Linked DNA regions of Homo sapiens: region 2 is linked to region 1. The links are contacts of gene promoters, found by promoter capture Hi-C in blood cells and fetal thymus (Javierre and others, 2016). All regions are on one chromosome and are shown on one strand. Each heading gives the region's core, a stretch centred on a gene start or on the middle of the fragment in contact. The rest is flanking DNA. Distances are from core to core; before and after follow the strand shown. Region 1 holds the start of KRT2 (keratin 2). Region 2 has its middle 28 kb from the start of EIF4B.

Region 1 (3,574 bases), core at 7-2,506:
AGGGCTCCTCAGCCTGATTTTTAAGAGCCTTGTAAATCCCTGCCTATTTCAAGGCAGATAAACCAAGACAGGTTCGTCTGCCTTGAAATAGGAGAAAAGCCAGTAACACTCCGAAGTGACACCAATAAAGACTTTATGGATCACAAAACTGAGAACGCTTCTCTTGAAGGCAGGAATTTCCTGCATTCCCAAGCAGATATTTCAGGTTCAGCTTCCCAGAGTTTAGTAATCACTGCTAAGGAAGGAAACACTATCTCAGAAGACGATGGCTTCCAAAACCTGCTGCTCCAGTGGCCTGTCCCAAGGATCAGTTCAATACTTGCCTATATCCATTTTTTATGGTTTTCAGAATTTTCCATAAATATTATTTATATGGACTGTAACAATAAGGTCAAAGGGACAAATGCTTCCTAAGTGCAGGCTGTTATGGGAAATGTAACCCACAAAGCTGGCGTCTTTTCCATCTGGAAACCGCAAATGACCCAGGCTACTGCGGTACACCACTGGCTCCTAAGAAATACAAATCTGTGCCATTTTCTTTTTGGTTGGCTCTGGAAGTGAAGTGGCCTGAGCATCAGTGGGAGCCGTCTTCTCCAGAGTCACCTTGTCAATGAAGGAGGCAAATTTGTTGTTGAGAGTTTTGATCTGCTCACGCTCTTGGGCCTTCACATTCTGGATCTCTGGGTCAACTTTCACGTTGAGAGGCTGCAGGAGGCTCTGGTTGACAGAGACTTCGTGGATGCCACCAGGGTATCCTCCAGGCCCAAAGCCACCAGGACCCCCTAAACCTCCAACACCACCAGGGCCCCCAAAACCTCCAAAGCGGCCTCCACCAAAGCCGCCTCCACCGAAACCACCACCACTGAAGCCGCTGCCACCTCCAAAGCTGCTGCCGCCTCCAAAACCACCTCCTCTGCCACCAAATCCACCAGCGGCGCCAAAGCCACCACCTCCTCCAGCCACACTAATGGAGATGCTCTTGGTCCCTCCAAGGCCAACAAGACTCCGACTGCCAAAGCCGCCTCCACCGAAGCCCCCGCCACCACCACCATGGCGGCTCAAGCAGGAGAAGCTGGAAGTTGATCTCCGGCTTCCACCAGACACCACAGCTGAGCCGCTGCTGAAGCCCCGGAATCCTCCTCCACCTCCTCCTCTTCCTCGAGATTTGCAAGAGATCTGACAACTCATGATGCCTTTGTCCAGGGAGGAAAGTCACAGGCTCTTGAGAAGAGTCAAGGCTGGAGACTCAACTGTGCTGCTGGGAGGCTTTCAGGGTCCCCTTATATACCTGCCAACTAGGTGTTGTGTACATGGGTGTGGATCCACTTATACGTGGGTTTGGTCTGCCTGGGAGCTATTCCTGGTGCGTGATTATCAAGCTAATAGCCATTAAAAATCTACTAATCAGCTCCATCCCAGAACTTGCTTTGATTGCAAACTTCTGTTTATCTGGGCATCTGTCATGCAATTTGATTTTTGTAAAATCATCAAAAGAGGAGATCAGGGTTTGGGTTTCTCAATCTGGAAAAGGACCTTCTGCAGAATGCTGCTCCCTGTTCTGGACCTGCCCAAGGGAAGTCAGCTACCACCCATGCTTGTGCAGGCTCACCACCCCAGTTCAACAATGAAAGGGATGGTGGGTTTAGAGACTGCAAGAGCCCCTCAATGCCAGCCTTGTAGTTCTCTTGTAGTTTCCCTCTTTCCCAGAAAGAGCCCCAACTAGTGCAGGGGAGACTGCAAAGGTCTTAAATGACCTTAAATGCTAATTGGAAATCGACCTCCTCTTACAGAAAGTAATTGGCCTCGGATACTGCAAAAGAGGTGTCGATTTTCAAAATATCTTGGCTCTTTTCTTCCCATGCCACACCAAAAATACACAATAACTAGGCACCGAATAGAGATTTTTTATAACCATGATGGTTTGTATAACCATCAACTGTCCCTTGTCTACATGAACACCCAGAGGTTGAGAGGTATGAGAAAAGTTTCGCTGTTTCTGGACCTGTGTGATGCGGGACACCAAGTGAAAGTTTGCAAACCAAGATCCAAGTGTATATTGATTCAGTCAGTCAGTAATCACGTATTGCCTGGTGATCCTGGGAAGTGATTAGGAAGTCAGGCTCTTCAATGACATCCACAGATGCTTGAGGATAAGAAGACCATCCAGCCTGCACAGAGCACTCACACTTAAACTCAACCACTTCCTCTGTCCATGTGGCCAACTATGTGGGAGAGGTTCTTGGAGTAATAAAACTGAATTTAGTCAGAAATTCTGGGTTTGAGTCCCAGTTTTGCTATTTATTGGCTGTGAGGCCTTGAATGAAACCCTGAGGCTCTGTGGTCCCAGCTATAAAATGGGAAATTCGTATGAAGTGTTTTGAAAACCACCGTGCACAATAAAATGTCAGTATCATTATTGTTTGGGGTGAGACAAAGATAATTCCTTTTCCTTTCCCCCTTGCCATGTTACTGTCTTCTGGCTACTATGAACATGCACTCTCCACAGGCATCATAAATTACAGAACCAGGTGGTTCAGATCCTAGTACCAAGTTATCACAAAATAATGTAAAAAACATAAGTTTGAGGTCAAATCCCAATTTTCTTGTATCTTAGTTAAATGACCTCAGATAATCCATAATCCTCTTCAAGCCTCAGTTTCCTCATCTATAAAAAGTGAACAAGAATAATAAGAATATGGCTACTGTGAAAACAGAACAATACACACATGTGCTAAACACAGTTCCTAGTTCATAGCAGAAACTCAATAAATGCTATTCACCCTTCTGCATCTTCCCCGCCAAGTTTCCAATCCTGTCTTAACTACTATTCAAGGTATTTAATTTGCAGTAAAAGAATGCTGAAGGAAACAAAGCTACATGTCTCCTCAATTATTTTTTCCAATCTGGTTTGCATAATTATAATCATGCAAACAAATCATGAAGCTAACAGCTTTGGAGACAGTCTCAATCCAAAGCAAAATGTGTCATTATCTACAGATATCTGAGCAATGCCCTAGTCGTCCCTTACTCCACCATGACTGTGCTCACACTATGGCAGCTTCAGGGGGGTCTTAATGCCTCTATGAAGGAAATTGAGCCAGATTTGTGCTAGGCACCCAATCTGCATGTTTTACTGCATTTTAATTCTGCCCTCACACCCTGGTCTCCCTCCCCACTCTCTCCACTGAACATCTTCTCCTTCTAGACCCATTCACCAATTTTTGAAAGTCAAGTTGAAAGAGTCCTCCTACTCTTTTGAAATGTGGAGACTAGAATTAATGCAATTTGAATATTATGTAACATTTTATTTCTATATTTTTAAATTTTCAACTTTTACATAATCTCAATGTGCTTTCCTAGATAATATGCTTTGCATTCTTTAAGAGAGTGAAATGGAAGTTAAGAATCTTGGTCTGGTTGTGATTTTGCCTCTACGCAACTGGTATCCTCAATTTCTTCATCTATAAAATAGGAATATTTATCCTGAATCCCTACTGTCCCACAAGGACATCGAGCTATTGCTGCAAAGAGTGTTAAGCTTCACTGTCTCTGAGAAGAGAACAGGAATCCTATA
Region 2 (3,793 bases), core at 644-3,143, 330 kb after region 1:
CATTGCCTTGGTACAATGATGGAGCCTGCTCTGTCCTCCTAGAAGAGACAGGAGAGAGAAGCCCATAGCAAGGGTCAAAAACTCCCAGCCTGAACCTGGGAGATGTCCATATACTGATGAAATGAGAGGTTCCCCTCTGGGTTCCAATGCACAAGCCCTGTACCAGATGAGGGAGCCATAAGGGATGCAGACAGAGACTCAAAGACAGAGACAAGGGCTGAGGGAGGGGGGATGGAAAGAACTGGGGAGCCAAAGACTGCAGCGGGGAAAGAATGCAGTGTCCATCCTAAAAGAAGGAAAATGGAAGTTTCCCAGGGAGGAGGGTGCCTGATCTTATCTGCTGTTTACATTCCAGAGAGCCCCTGCTTCTGCTTCTCATCTTAATTAGAGAATACTTGAGAAGCCCTGCCGCCGTGCAGAGAGAAAGGAATGCAGGCCCCCACTAAACCCCAGCCTGCCCCCCTCACCCCTGACCTCCTGCTGGCTATGTGGTGGGACTGATGGGAGTCTGGGTTCTGGATCCATTTTCTGTTTTCTGTTTTTTTGTCTACAGTGGGCTGATCCATTAAGCTGGATTCCTTGAGAGAGTATGTGAGAGGGTCTGGGAACTGTCAGGGCTCCACTCCTGCAGGAAACAAACAAACAAACAAACAAACAAAATTAAAAAGTATTAGAAAGAGCCACTGAGAGGAACAGCTGAGATTCTCTCAGTCAGTCTGCCATTCACCCCCTCAAACATCGCCCTCACTCCACCACCATAATGTCCAGGCAGGGTGCTGACACTTCACCGTTCACCTCCCACCCTGCCCCGGGCTGTCCTCCAAATGTGTGTCAGACACAGTGCTGGGGGACTTATACTTCTGTCATAGTCTCTGTCTTCAGTAGCATATGGTAAGAGCCAGGATCCGCTATTAAACATGCTGTGAGTGGGTAGAGACAAAGTCTTGTCTTGTAGGGTGAGCAGGCAGTGAGGTCAGAAAGGGCATCACAGGTAGAGGAAAAAGCATGGGCAGAGGTCTGGAACCCAGTCCCTCTTCATACCACCCGCTGACCCTTTCCCCTCCCCCCCACATGAGATTTCTCCCCCTCTCTTCTCTCTTCTCTCCCTCAACAATTCCAGGGTTGCCCACCTGAAAACAAGCTCCCTGGACCACCTTCCCTTGCAGCTCTCTGTTCCTTCTCTCTTTTTTTTTTTTTTTTTTTTTTGAGACGGAATCTCACTCTGTCACCCAGGCAGGAGTGCAATGGTGTGATCTCAGCTCACTGCAGCCTCTGCCTCCCAGGTTCAAGTGATTCTCCTACCTCAGCCTCACGAGTAGCTGGGATTACAGGTGCCCACCACCACACCCAGCTAATTTTTGTATTTTTACTAGAGATGGTGTTTCACCACATTGGCCAGGCTGGTCTCGAACTCCTGACCTCAGGTGATCCACCCGCCTCAGCCTTCCAAAGTGCTGGGATTACAGGCGTGAGCCACTGCGCCTGGCCAGCTCTCTGTTCCTTCTCATAGCTAAGCATCTTACATCATTCTCTCTCGTTTTGTTGTTGTTTTGTTGTTGTTGTTGTTGTTGTTGTTGTTGTTGTTTGAGACAGAGTTTTGCTCTTGTTGCCCAGGCTGGAGTGCAGTGGCGCGATCTCGGCTCACTGCAACCTCCACTTCCAGGGTTCAAGTGATTCTCCTGCCTCTGCCTCCCAAGTAGCTGGGATTATAGGCATGCGCCACCACACCTGGCTAATTTTGTATTTTTAGTGGAGATGGGGTTTTATCATGTTGGTCAGGCTGGTCTCAAACTCCTGACCTCAGGTGATCCACTTGCCTCGGCTTCCCAAAGTGCTGGGGTTACAGGCTTGAGTCACTGCATCTGGCCTTACATTATTCTCAAAAGAGGTCTACACACAGGCTTTCCCCTTCCTCACCCAGTTCACTCTTCAGCCCCTCCAGGCTGGCTCAGCTCGTATGGCTCCTCAGAAGCTGCACTAGCCAAGGTTCCCAGAGACCTCCATGTTGTTGAAATCGATGGACACTTGACATTCCTTTTGTTCCTTGACCACTTAGCTTCCAGCAGCTGCATGCTCCCTCCTTCTTTTTTTTTTTTTTTTTTTTTTGAGATGGAGTTTCACTCTTGTTGCCCAAGCTGGAGTCCAGTGGCATGATCTTGGCTCACTGCAACCTCCATCTCCCAGGTTCAAGCGATTCTCTTGCCTCAGCCTTCCAAGTAGCTGGGATTATAGGCGTGTGCCACCACACCTGGCTAATTTTTTGTATTTTTAGTAGAGACAGGGTTTCACCATGTTAGCCAGGCTGGTCTCGAACTCCTGACCTCAGGTGATCCACCTGCCTCGGCCTCCCAAAGTGCTGGGATTACAGGCATGAGCCACAGCACCCAGCCTCTCCCTCCTTCTTGAAACACTCTCCTTCCTAGTCTCCCAGACACCTCGTGCCAGGCTTTTCTCTAGTTATAGTTTCTCGGTCCCTTTTCCCCACTCACCCTCCTTGACATGGTCTGTAACTTGATGTTTCTGATCTATAAATTGACCTGATATAAAGTTGATGTTCCTCAGGGCTGGGTCCTGGCCCCTATTCTCTTATTAATAGGGACTATTTTCTTGAGTCATCTCATACCTTGCCCTGGTTTTAATTGCATCTTCTATAGACCAAAGACTTCCAGATTGTGATGTCCAACCAGACCTTTCTTGTGAGCTCCAGAGCAGCCTATGGAATATTCTACTTAATGCCTCTTTTTAGATGACTCTTAGGCATCTCAAATTTAACCTGTTCAAAACTGGATTATTGATCTTAGCTCCCACCAGCTTCATAATTCTTGTTCATCTTAGTAAATGACACACCATCCATCTAATTGCTTGTGCCAGAAACCTGGGAATCATATTTGACACCTCCTTCTCTCTTGGTCTACCCTATGGATCTAATAAATTAATAACCCTACTTCCACAGTAAGTCCAAATCTATTCCTTTCTCCCCATCCACACCCCACATCCAGGCTGTAGGCATCTGTCCTCTGTACTATCACTGCAACATCTTCCTAACAGAAAGTCTTCTCATGGCCACCAGTAACCACTCAGCCTTCCTCCACACACCAGCCAACATGGTCTTCTTTAAAAATAAATCTCAGCCGGGCTTGGTGGCTCACACCTGTAATCCCAGCCAAAGTGGGCGGATCACCTGAGGTCAGGAGTTCAAAACCAGCCTGGCCAATGTGGCAAAACCCCATCTCTACCAAAAAAAAAAAAAAAATTAGCCGGGCATGGTGGCAGGTGCCCATAGTCCCAGCTACTCAGGAGGCTGAGGCAGGAGAATCACTTGAACCCAAGAGGCAGAGGGTGCAGTGAACCAAGATGGTGCCACTACTCTCCAGCCTGGGTGACAGAGCAAGACTCCATCTCAAAAAAATAAATAAATAAAAATAAAAATAAATGTGTGCCAGGCCCAGTGGTCCCAGCTACTTGGGAGACTGAGGTGGGAGAATCTCTTGAGCCCAGAAGTTTGAGACCAGCCTGGGCAACAGAGCAAGACCACCTCTAAAAAATATATAAATAAATAATAAATAGATAAAACTAGATCTCATAATATCCCTCACCTACTTAAAACCCTTCCGTGACCCAGGAAGCATCCAGACTCCATGGCCAGTGCCCTGACTCTGTGTTCCAGCTCCTCTTTTTGCAGTCTCCCCTGCTGACCAGCCTCCAGCCACACCATTCACTCCACACACACACTCCTCCCTTAGCTCCCTCCCACCTCCTCATCAGCGATCTCTCCCTCACCTTCCGAGGCTCT

The links. The method cuts DNA at HindIII sites, captures the fragments that hold promoters and counts their contacts. A CHiCAGO score of 5 or more calls a contact.
Region 2: a contact is called between a fragment that was not itself captured here and the fragment with the promoter of KRT2 in region 1, in 6 of 17 cell types (naive CD8 T cells, non-activated CD4 T cells, naive CD4 T cells and 3 more). The highest score is 9.2, in naive CD8 T cells.

Annotation. Positions count from the first base shown.
Region 1 is chr12:52,650,955-52,654,528 of GRCh38, forward strand. It overlaps KRT2 (keratin 2), which reads right to left and starts at 1,257. Exons shown (of 9, transcript NM_000423.3): 1 at 604-1,257. The coding sequence starts at 1,188. The HindIII fragment of the contact is 4,749 bases long and covers 1-3,536 here.
Region 2 is chr12:52,976,566-52,980,358 of GRCh38, forward strand. No RefSeq gene overlaps it. Among named protein-coding and RNA genes, the nearest start is that of EIF4B, 28 kb to the right of the region's middle. The HindIII fragment of the contact is 5,548 bases long and covers 1-3,793 here.